Linked DNA regions of Homo sapiens: region 1 is linked to region 2. Evidence: promoter capture Hi-C in human tissues and cell types (Jung and others, 2019). All regions are on one chromosome and are shown on one strand. Each heading gives the region's core, a stretch centred on a gene start or on the middle of the fragment in contact. The rest is flanking DNA. Distances are from core to core; before and after follow the strand shown.

What was found. The method cuts DNA at HindIII sites, captures the fragments that hold promoters and counts their contacts. A contact is called where the count stands out against the background at its distance.
Region 1: a fragment that was not itself captured here is called in contact with the fragment with the promoter of MAPK8IP1 in region 2 in 1 of the 25 tissues and cell types used here (spleen).

Annotation. Positions count from the first base shown.
Region 1 is chr11:46,502,215-46,507,473 of GRCh38, forward strand. The region is part of intron 9 of AMBRA1 (autophagy and beclin 1 regulator 1); the gene reads right to left. Among named protein-coding and RNA genes, the nearest start is that of MIR3160-1, 53 kb to the left of the region's middle. The HindIII fragment of the contact is 3,452 bases long and covers 1,521-4,972 here.
Region 2 is chr11:45,883,561-45,888,744 of GRCh38, forward strand. It overlaps MAPK8IP1 (mitogen-activated protein kinase 8 interacting protein 1), which reads left to right and starts at 2,091. Exons shown (of 12, transcript NM_005456.4): 1 at 2,091-2,361. The coding sequence starts at 2,261. RefSeq lists a silencer at 1,953-2,352. The HindIII fragment of the contact is 16,221 bases long and covers 1-5,184 here.

The sequences.
Region 1 (5,259 bases), core at 1,997-4,496, 620 kb after region 2:
GACTATAGGTGGAGAAGTTTTTGTCTCGTTCCACATTAAGAACTAATTTTGTATAATACCACCACTCAATAAATGTAGATGGCTGGCTGATTCCTAACTGCTTTAAGCAGGTTCCAACCTATAAAGAGAGTAACTTTACAGTGTGTTTCCTCAGCATTTCTCTTGCACTCCTAATATTAGAGTCTGTGGCTCATAAGACAAAGGAAAAGACAAAGGGAACTCTATTTCAAAATGAAGTAGATAATACCTTATCCCTCTCTGACGATTTTACTTGCCAAAAGTTACCCCCTCTTCCTTGGGTACAAGTTATATATTTGTTATTAGAGAGTAGTCACTGATTCCTACAGAAGTCCTAGAAATTCCCGGCTCAGAAGAGAGCAGGAACAAGTACTGTCAAGGACAGGTGGCTAGAATTCTAGTCAGGAGAACTTGAAATACATGAGTCATCAGGTCTATCACCTGATAAGAATGGTATTCTCTAGTTTCTAACATATCTTCTTTGCCATGACTCAACTAGGCTTTTTAAGTTATATCAAAGGGGCAGATGAAGAATATTAAATTGTGGGCCAGATGTGGTGGCTCACGCCTGTAATCCCAGCACTTTGGGAGGCCGAAGTGGGCAGATCACGAGGTCAGGAGTTCAAGACCATCCTGGCTAACACGGTGAAACCCCATCTCTACCTAAAATACAAAAAAATTAGCTGGGCGTGGTGGCAGGCACCTGTAGTCTCAGCTACTCAGGAGGCTGAGGCAGGAGAATGGCATGAACCTGGGAGGCGGAGCATGCAGTGAGCCGAGATTGTGCCGCTGCACTCCAGCCTGGGTGACAGAGCGAGACTCTGTCTCAAAAAAAAAAAAAAAAAAAAAAAAAAAATGAATTTTTGCTTTGTGTTCACAACTTGGCTGTTTATAGCAGAAGAGGACTAGCTTCTGGCCTATCTCAAGTTTCAACATGTCTTGCTCACTAATCATTTGTAGCTTTTGACATAAAGTGAGAGATGTGCAACTCTTCCTTTTTCTTGAACATACAGAGGTCACTATAGGGATATTAAATGGCCTAATTTCAATATTGCTGTGTATCAGGGAATAGGAAGGCCCAAGAAGAGGAAGAGAGATGGGGGAATCGCCAGTGAGTGGAGCAGTCAAAATATATACAACATTTACAATTAAGCTTATTGTCTTATATGATTGTGGTTCACAGTGCCCCAAAACAATTACAATTGATCACAGGTCACCATAACAGATCTAATAATAATGAAAACATCTGAAATACTGCAAGAATTACCAGTGTGACAGACAGACACAAAATGAGCACATGCTGTTGGAAAAATGGTGCCAACTGCTCAATGTCGGGTTGCCACAAACCTTCAATTTGTGAAAAACACAATACCTGCAAAGCGCAAAAAAAGCCAAGCACAATAAAACAAAGTGTGCCTGTATTTGGTCACAATGTGGACTTCTGGGAAAAGAGGACCCAAATATAAGCAAATTAATTAGAATAGTTAAGAAAATAAATTAACAGACCTAAAGAGAATTCATCTTAAGGCTAAAAGACTAGAATTCTCATTGAGATGTTTTTTCCAGGCAGAAATCCAAAGTACAGCCCGTGTGTCAAAATTGTGAATAAGAGACTTCTGTGCCAGCAACAGTCTTTTATTTGTTTAATACATATGGGGATCTCACTATGTTGCCCAGGCTGGTCTCGAACTCCTGGGCTCAAGCAATCCTCTTGCTTCAACCTCCCAAAGTGCTGAGATTACAGGTGTGAGCTGCCACACCCGGCTCTAGCAACAGTTTTCAAGAAGCTGAATGTAATTATCCAGTGGCTAGTATATACGATGCAGATATTTGCGACTGATCTAATCTGAAGCTTCTCTAGTCTGACTGTCATTAGCAAAGCCTTTGCTACAGTATCCCTTTGCCTCAGAAAGCAAAGCAGCTATAAAAAGAGGCAGGAAGGGCAGGAATATGGGCTAGGGAGGATTCTGGAATTATAATTACATTTAGATTAACAGATAAAATGAGTAAGGGGGCAAGCATAGCTGGAATAATTGTCATAAAGCATACACACCACCTCTTTTGTAGGCCTTAGCAACTACGGGCCATAGCACTTAACCTGGGCTTTATAAAAGCCCCCTCCCTCTTTCCAAAGGGATGGCAAACATGAAAATGGAAGTCTGCCTTACGCTTATTTGCCATCTCCATTCTAGTAGGTGGTCTGGGCTTGAAAGCAGACAGACAGCAATGTCATGGGCAGCCACACCTTTACCCTGCTTATGAACATCTTTATGCAAAGGCAGCTGCTGAGAGCTTCAGGAGAGACCTGCTGACAGCAGGTTTCTGGATGTCCTGTTTGTGCAGTTTGATAAACACAAGGACCCTGCAGTCTCAATCCTTGCTGTAGACAGAGATGAATGGCAGGAGAGGAAGCCTGCCCAGGAAGATGGTCATTCATCTAGATCACAAAAGAACAGAAAATTTAACCTGATGCTGACCAACCTCCAAAGCCACCCTCCCAAGAGATAAATCTCAATGGTCTTGCTCCACAGCAAGCTCTTGGAAAGGCTCAAAAATGGTGGTACATCATTTTCAAAGGTTTTTAAATCAGCAGGACAATAAAACTCAGACACTAAATATGCTTGCTCCTGTCCTCTAACCTTAGACATATCTGATTTGGTCAAATGGAAGAGAACCACAAAAGATGGGCTCTGAGTAATGGCTCCCTTGGTTTTCTGAGAACACTATACAACTGGATGTGACAAGCCCAAAAATGGCAAAATGATCTATGACTTAGCAAACAGAGGGAGAGGTCATCAAAGTGAGGTAGCAAAGGCAAGAGCATGAAGTGCTGAGAAGGTGAGGATACCAAACAAAGGAACAACTGTCTTAATGGTAACCTAATTGTTAGGAGGATTACTCGCCATATCTACCTTACATGTCTCTCTGTACCTGAAAAAAATATAAATCGTGACTGCACATGCCTCTGACTTTCCTTCTAGTTACCAAAGCTAAGGCAAAAGATTGGGGCAGAAAAATTAAAATGTGCTGGTACATTCCTTCTTTGTTATTCTCCCTCCTCACAGAGCACGTGGACACTCAGAGGACAGGAGCAACCACAAGCAGCATTCAGTTTACTGTAGAGGGAGGTGGGCAGGGAAGGAGACAGAGAAAGAATAAACAGTCAGTTTCAACCAGCCAGTAACATCCTTTACTAGAAGACCTGGACTACTAATGTTGAGGTGACTAATCCACAGCTGCTATTAAAAACAAGATTCTAGTCTACATCAGCCCAAAAAGAAAGGCAAACACCCCAGAAGGGACTTTCCAAGGAGTATGAGAGAAATCAGTCCATTGTTACTAACCAGGGAGCAATATAAGACCCCCTGAGAAAAAACAGTAAGTCAGTGCATGAAAGGTGAAGAAGGAAATGTAAATTCAGGTCATGCTAAAGCCAGGGGAGGGGGTGGGGGAGAGCGCACAGGTGGGCTGGGGGGAGCATAAGGAGGAGGCAGTCTGACACAGGAAAATCGAGGGGGAAGGAAGGGGAGAGAGAGAGGAGGTGGTAGCAGGAGAAAGGGAAGGTAAGACAAGAACAGAACATTTTAAACTAACCCAGAACTCCCTTGTGAAGGACAAGTCACGAGGCAAGATACAGCTTGAAGGCATGAGCCCCACATTTCACCACTGCAAAAAGATAACGCAGTCTCCCAGGCGTGCATGGAAAGAGGGCTAGGCAATCCACAACACTGACTCCCAGGGCTCCACAGCATTAGTGAGAGAAAGTCACCCAGGCTTTTCAGCAGCACTAAGTGCCAGCAGCCTTGGCATGTATGTTTCAACTGCTTCCCTGAATAGACCCTGGTGCTGGAAAAACCGTATCTACAGGAGAACATATTTCACTGTAAGTATCTGCCTGGCTAAGGGAACAAACACTCCATTTCCTTCACTGCTGATATACGCATCCACCTCACCCTAGAGTGGACAGAAGGGAGAAGGAACAAGCTGACAGTCAGAAGGTAGCTCTGCTCTTCTCCTGCAGTTGACAAGAGAGAACCATGACCTCTGCTCCATTTGCCACACCACTGCTACTTCAGGCCATCCCTGCATTTCTTTCACATTTACATCTTTCTCAGACAAATAAACCTCCCACTTAGTTTTCCTTTTGCTTCTAAGAGCACAAATGCTAGTAGTGTGTTTAATGACAGCATCAGGAAGGCAAATTGGTACAAAGGTTGTTCTCACTTTCCTAGTCCTTTCTGGCAAAGAGATTTCTTAAACACACTAAAAAGCTTTGTTGCAAGATGACTTGTGAGGAACTAGCCATTCAGTTAAGGAAGAAAGCTGAGGGGGAGATGAGAACTCTTAAGGCCCCAGACCTGACCCGGCTATGTCAAGATGGAAGGTGGGGAGGAAATGACTGACAGGCTGTCCTCTTTCACAAATGCCAGTGAAGAAGGAGGAAGAAATAATGCTTAACCGCCCTTCTCTCTCTCTTGCTTTTATGTTTGACAATACCAAAATATAAGGAATCAAAATGAGCCAAATGTTCAATTTGATACAGGCCATAAAAGCTCAGTTTCAGGATGGAAAGAAACACAATGAATGGCTAGAAAGGTCAGAAGCAGCAGATGAGAGAATGCAAAACCCAGCAATAAGATTGGCTAGCTTAGGCTGGGCGTGGTTGCTCACACCTATTATCCCAGCACTTTGGGAGGCCAAGGCAGGCGGATCACAAGGTCAAGAGATGGAGACCATCCTGGCTAACAAAGTGAAACCCCATCTCTACTAAAAATACAAAAAAAAAAAAAAAAAATTAGCCGGGCGTGGTGGCAGGCGCCTGTAGTCCCAGCTACTCCGGAGGCTGAGGCAAGAGAATGGCATGAACCTGGGAGGCGGAGCTTGCAGTGAGCCGAGATTGTGCCACTGCACTGCAGCCTAGGCAACACAGCAAGACTCCGTCTCAAAAAAAAAAAAAAAAAAAAAGGCTTGGCACGGTGGGTCACGCCTGTAATCCCAGCACTTTGGGAGGCCAAGGCGGGCAGATCACGAGGTCAGGAGATCAAGACCACCCTGGCTAACATGGTGAAACCCCATCTCTACTAAAAATACAAAAAATTAGCCAGGCGCGGTGGCGGGCGCCTGTAGTCCCAGCTACTCAGGAGGCTGAGGCAGGAGAATGGCGTGAACTCGGGAGGCGGAGCTTGCAGTGAGCCGAGATAGCGCCACTGCACTCCAGCCTGAGCGAAAGAGCGAGACTCC
Region 2 (5,184 bases), core at 841-3,340:
GTCAGTCAGTGCAGGGCCTGCTCCACGCCCTCAATCCATCCTTTAATTCAATGCAGCCACTTAAGCTGCAGCCTGTGGTGAGGAGGGGATGCAGGCTCTCTGGCTGTGACTAGGTGGTTGAGATCTGCCCACAGCCAAGCCTAGGGCGCCTGGATGCTGGCTTTGTCTCCTGGCCAGAGAATGGCCCCTCTCTGTGCAGTGTGCCCTGCTTCCATGCTAGGGGATGCTAGCCTTGGACTGAAAGCTTTATTAGCTCACACCCCAACTTTCTGGGAAGGGGCCCAGGCAAGGCCCAAGAATATCACAGTCTGGCCTGCACAGAGTGAAGAAGGAGAAAAGGGGAGGAACCTGCCTTGGGAACTTGTCTCATTCTTGGCTCTGCTCTGAAGCTCCTGCTGGCCTCCCTCATACCAAGACCTGGGCCTGCCTTTCCTTCTTGCCCTTCTGGCTTCTCTCTAATAATGGCTTTGGGTTGGTCTTTGGAGCTAAGATAACTTTGCTCTTGAGCAAAAGGTTCTGGAAGAGGGAGTTGTCCTTTACATCCACCCCTGACCTGCTAAGGATGTTCCCTAGCTGAGGCAGGTCTACATTCTAAGGAACGATTAGTAGCCATGATGGCAAGACTGCTTTCCTGAGAGGAAAAGCCAGGCACCATGGCAGCAGATGATTACCGTGAGGGCCCAGTGAAAGGGGCCTGATCACGAAAGCTGAGAAAGTAGTGGCCACCCCTCTGGGCCCCAGGGACAGGGAAAAGAGAAGCAGCCATGACCTTTGGCTCTAGGTATTGGGATATTCTCAGGGCTGGTGGTCGGAGGTTGCCTTCTGCACGGAAGGTGCCTCCAGCTCCTTGCTAGGTGCCGCACTGAAGGAAAGGGGCCAGCATGACTGGTCGGCAGTCCAGATTTGCAAATAGGACTCCACGAGTTGTGGCACAGTTTGCTCTGCACGTTTTCTGCCCTGTGGACAGGGTCTCTAGGGTTCTCTCGAGAGACCAGAGAAGCCAATGAGGTTTGACCAGAGGCTCTACGACCCAGCAAAGCTAAGGCCCTAGCCTTGGCAGTCCGTACTCTGAAATAACTCAATCGGGAAACTCAGGGACTTGAAGGCCTGGAAGCCCAGGAATAACACCCTCTCGAGGGAGAGACAATGAGGAAGAAGCCATGGCCAAAGCCTAGCAGGGATGGAGGTGCCAGAGGGAACAGAAACAACCAAAATGATCCCAAGAAGTCAACAGTGGGAGGAGAGGGAAAGGCGCCAAGTCTTAGAATGTGTGTCTGTGGGTGCAGAAGAGGGGTGCTCTGCAGGAAATGCAGTTGAGGCGCTAAGAAGGAGAATGCTGGGAAGGTCCTGGCGAGAGACCGAGAAGCCTGGAGGGCTCAATTCACCACGAGTAGCTGTTTGGGGCTGAAGAGAGATTTGGGTCAATCTTTAGAGAAGACAGCCTCTAGGGAGAGTCTTTGGGAGGGTCCCCTCAAGGTAAAGGGACAGGACTGGGGTGAGGGCTGGATCCCAGCGCAGGAGGTGGAGTGTTTCTGGGTCTCAGGCAACACATTTGTGTTACGTTACATTCTCACAACAACCATGAGAGGGACTGCTATTGTCCCATTTCACAGATAAGAAGACCAAACCTTAGTGCTCTGAAGTCACTAATGCAAGGCCCCACTGCCCAGTCACTTGTGGAGCCAGTGAATTCACACCACCTGACTCCAAACCTGTACACTTTAAGAGCCCACTGACATCCTCTCCTTTCTCTGCCTTCCTCCACGACCCTCCTTTTCCGCCTGCCTTCTTGGTCTCTGCTGCGGGGGGCCAACCTGGACCTTGGGGTCCAGTGTCCTGCCATTAGTCATCTGATACCCGGGCACTAAGCCCAACCGGAGGGACAAAGCCCACACCGGCCACGGGGTGGAGGAGAGTCGATGTCGGATTTAGGGCGGGGCTGAACCAAGCCCAGGGCCGCGGGGGCCGTGGCTTCAGCACCGCGGAGAGCGCCATCTCCGGGGGCGGGGCTGGCGGGGTGGGGGCGGGGCCTGGGCGGGGCGCGCGAGACCCCGGCCGGGTCCCGGGGGCGCGCGCGGGGCGCTCTCGCCAGTCCCGCGGGCCGTGCGCGGTGCTGTGCCGCGCCCTGCCAGACACAGGTGCGCCCGCCTAGCCCGAACTCCGCGGCGGCGGCTGCCCTCTCGCCGCGCCTCCGCCTCCTTCGCAGCCGCCGCCTCCTCCGCGCCGCGCTCCGCCCGGATGGCCAGGGCTGTGCCCGAGAATGGCGGAGCGAGAAAGCGGCGGCCTGGGAGGGGGGGCCGCGTCCCCGCCCGCCGCCTCCCCGTTCCTGGGGCTGCACATCGCTTCGCCTCCCAATTTCAGGTGAGAGTCCCCGGCCGCCGCGCGCCTCGCCCTTCAGCGGGGACTGATCCGCATTGGCTGCCCTGCCCGCCCCCCACCCCAGAACCTCGGGAACCCGGGAACGAAAGGGCTGCGTGGGAGTGGGGTCTCTTCCCGGGACAGAGCCCCCCTCAGAAGCCCCGCCAGCCTCAAGTCCGGACTGGTAGCCGTTGCATGTTCACGAGGCTGTTCCCTCCGCCATTCCTGGTCCTAGGCTGGGAGGTCTGCGCTGGAATTGGAGGAGGGGGCTCGGAGGCCTCCTTCTCCCCAACCTCCGGGCTGCGGCAGGGTCTGGGGTCGGGGTTGCGATCCCGGAGCGGGCAGGCAGGCTGCATCTTAGCCTGTGAATAGAGCTGGGAACAGCCTGGAGGGGCGCGGGTCGCAGTTTCCTGGGGCAACGACATTGTTGGTGCTGGGAGGAGGATGTTTGAGCCCCTCCCCGAGCCCTGCCTGGCCAGATGGGCCTACCTGCCAGGCCTGGCGTGGCCGGGCCCCTCTCTGGATTGGGCAGCACCGACCTAGGCAGGTGTGTCTCTCAGGGCAGGCGCTGAAGGCTCAGCCTCAACCAGGGGAATCCTAGGCCCGGCTGCGGGAAGGGAAGTCGGCTCGGCTCTGGAGTAGCCAGGGCCAGCGAGGGTGTCGAGGGGATCCCTGCTGGGGTAAATACCCAGAACCCTGACCTGAGCTCCTATTCCACCACCCCCACCCCCCAATCTGGTGTTAGGCCCGATGCATTTCAGAGAAGTGAGGGGTGAGTGTTGTGTGGAGGAGGAATAGATGTACCTCCCCCATAATTCTGAACCCTAGTTGGTGGGGAGGAAGAGGCCGAAGTCACTGCTCCCGGCCTAGAGAGGGAGGCTTAGACATACCCCATTGTTTCCCCATCTCGAGAACTGGCGCCTTCCCCTCTCCTGGGGCACCACCCCAGCCAGGCTCCAGCTGGGCTGTGGTGCCAGCCCCTCCTGGGAGCAAGGGGTCACTGGCTCCCAGGTCCTCAGGTGGGCAGAGACCCCTGGGGATCTCTAATAGCATCATCAAACTCAGAAACCTTCCCTGAGGCCCTGAGCTGAGCTGGAAGGACCAGAGGGGGCCAGATGGAGGAGGCCAGGCCTGAAGGCTCCAGGGCTGCAGCTCTCTGATAATGCCTTAGACTGAGGTCTGAGACTCCACCTGGCATGGTGCATGAGGCCTCCATGCAAATACTGCCTCCCCACCTGGAGGCCTCTGCAGTGGAAGCACATGGGGCTTAGAGGGACCTGGGTTCAAATCCTAGCTCCACTACTTTCTAACTGCATGACCCAGGCAGGTTTTTGTCCTCTCTGGGTGCCATCTGTTAAGTGGGCTAATTAATATTGATTCTTGCCTGGAAAGGAGAAAAAGCACATCAGGTCAGTGTTCAACAAGTGTCAGCCCCCACACTAGCAGACAACACTACGGCTCGCTGCTGTCCAGAGTGTCTTCCCAAGGCCCCTCCTTTAACCCTCATAACTGCCCCAAGAGAGGGTAGTGACCTGCCCATTTTATAGATGAGGTGATTGAGATTAACAAAGGCAGGGTGGCTCATCTGGAGACTACAAAAGAGTCAGAGACTAAGGCTACACTGGGACCCAGGTCTGTGCGTGTTTAGTCCACTCTACGTCCCAGCCCTGCCTCTGGCCCAGTGGGCAGCTTTTCTTCCTCGACCTGCTTCCCCAGGTGTCATAGATGCTTTAATGAGAGGAGCTGAGGAAGCAGACACCAGCCAGTGAATGTGTGGCCAGCTCTGCGGCATGTGGGACAAGGGTGGCAGTAGGCCACGAGGCTGAGGTGTGGGCCAGCACTCCAGAACATGGTGGCCTGGCTGCGGAGACAAGGCCAGTGCGTGGGAATAATAAGCGTCAGTGTCTCAGGCCCTGCCGGCCTGCCCCGCTGCTCCCAAAGCCCCCGCTGCCCTTTCTCCTGGCCCGCCTCTCACTGTGCTTGGCCAGGCTCCACTTAACCCTGGGTGGGTAGATAGTGCTTTCTTGTGGCTCTTTGGTGGAGTCATAGATCCAACTGGCCTGGGTTTGAATCCTGGCTGGCCCTTCTTACCTGTGTGCCCTGACACTGGGCACTTAAGCCCTCTGAGCCTCTGAGATGCCAGCACTGGCCCCTGCTCAGGATGGTCCTAAGAATCAGATGAGATAACACGTGTTGAGTGTTTCAAGGGCTGAGGAGAGCCGCCTGTAGGCAGGGCTGTGTGTGTGCACACACACACAGGCGCCTTGACCCCCAGTGCCACTGTCAGCTCCCAGAAAATAAAGGGGGTCTGTACCCAAACTTTGGTATCCCCATTGCTCAGCACGGGATAGTTACTCAATAACAGTGGTAAGCGCTGACATTTGGAAGGCACTCAGTTCGCCCAGGCACCATTCTAAGAGTTTCCTATGTGCAAGAGTATTTACTCCTCCCAATAACTGTATCAACAGAGCGTTGTTATTATCCACACTTGCATGAAGAAACTGAGGCAGAGGGAGGTTAGGTAAGTGGCAGAGCTTGTAAGTGGCAGGCAGTCTGATGTCAGAGCCACCCCAAAAAGAAAGAGCCCTAGAGTATTGGAAGAGCATGTGCGGAGGGGGCGAGCATGTGGACCTGACCTGAAGGGGTGGGAGCATTCGTTTGTTTGTGGTAGGTTAAATACGTGTTAATTTTTGTTCTGATTATAGCTCCAGCTGTTTATAGTGGTTGGTTACCTTTGGGTATGGTATGGGGTGAGGGATTTTTACTTCTTATTTTACATACTTTTTTTTTTTGAGACAGAGTCTCACTCTGTCGCCCAGGCTGGAG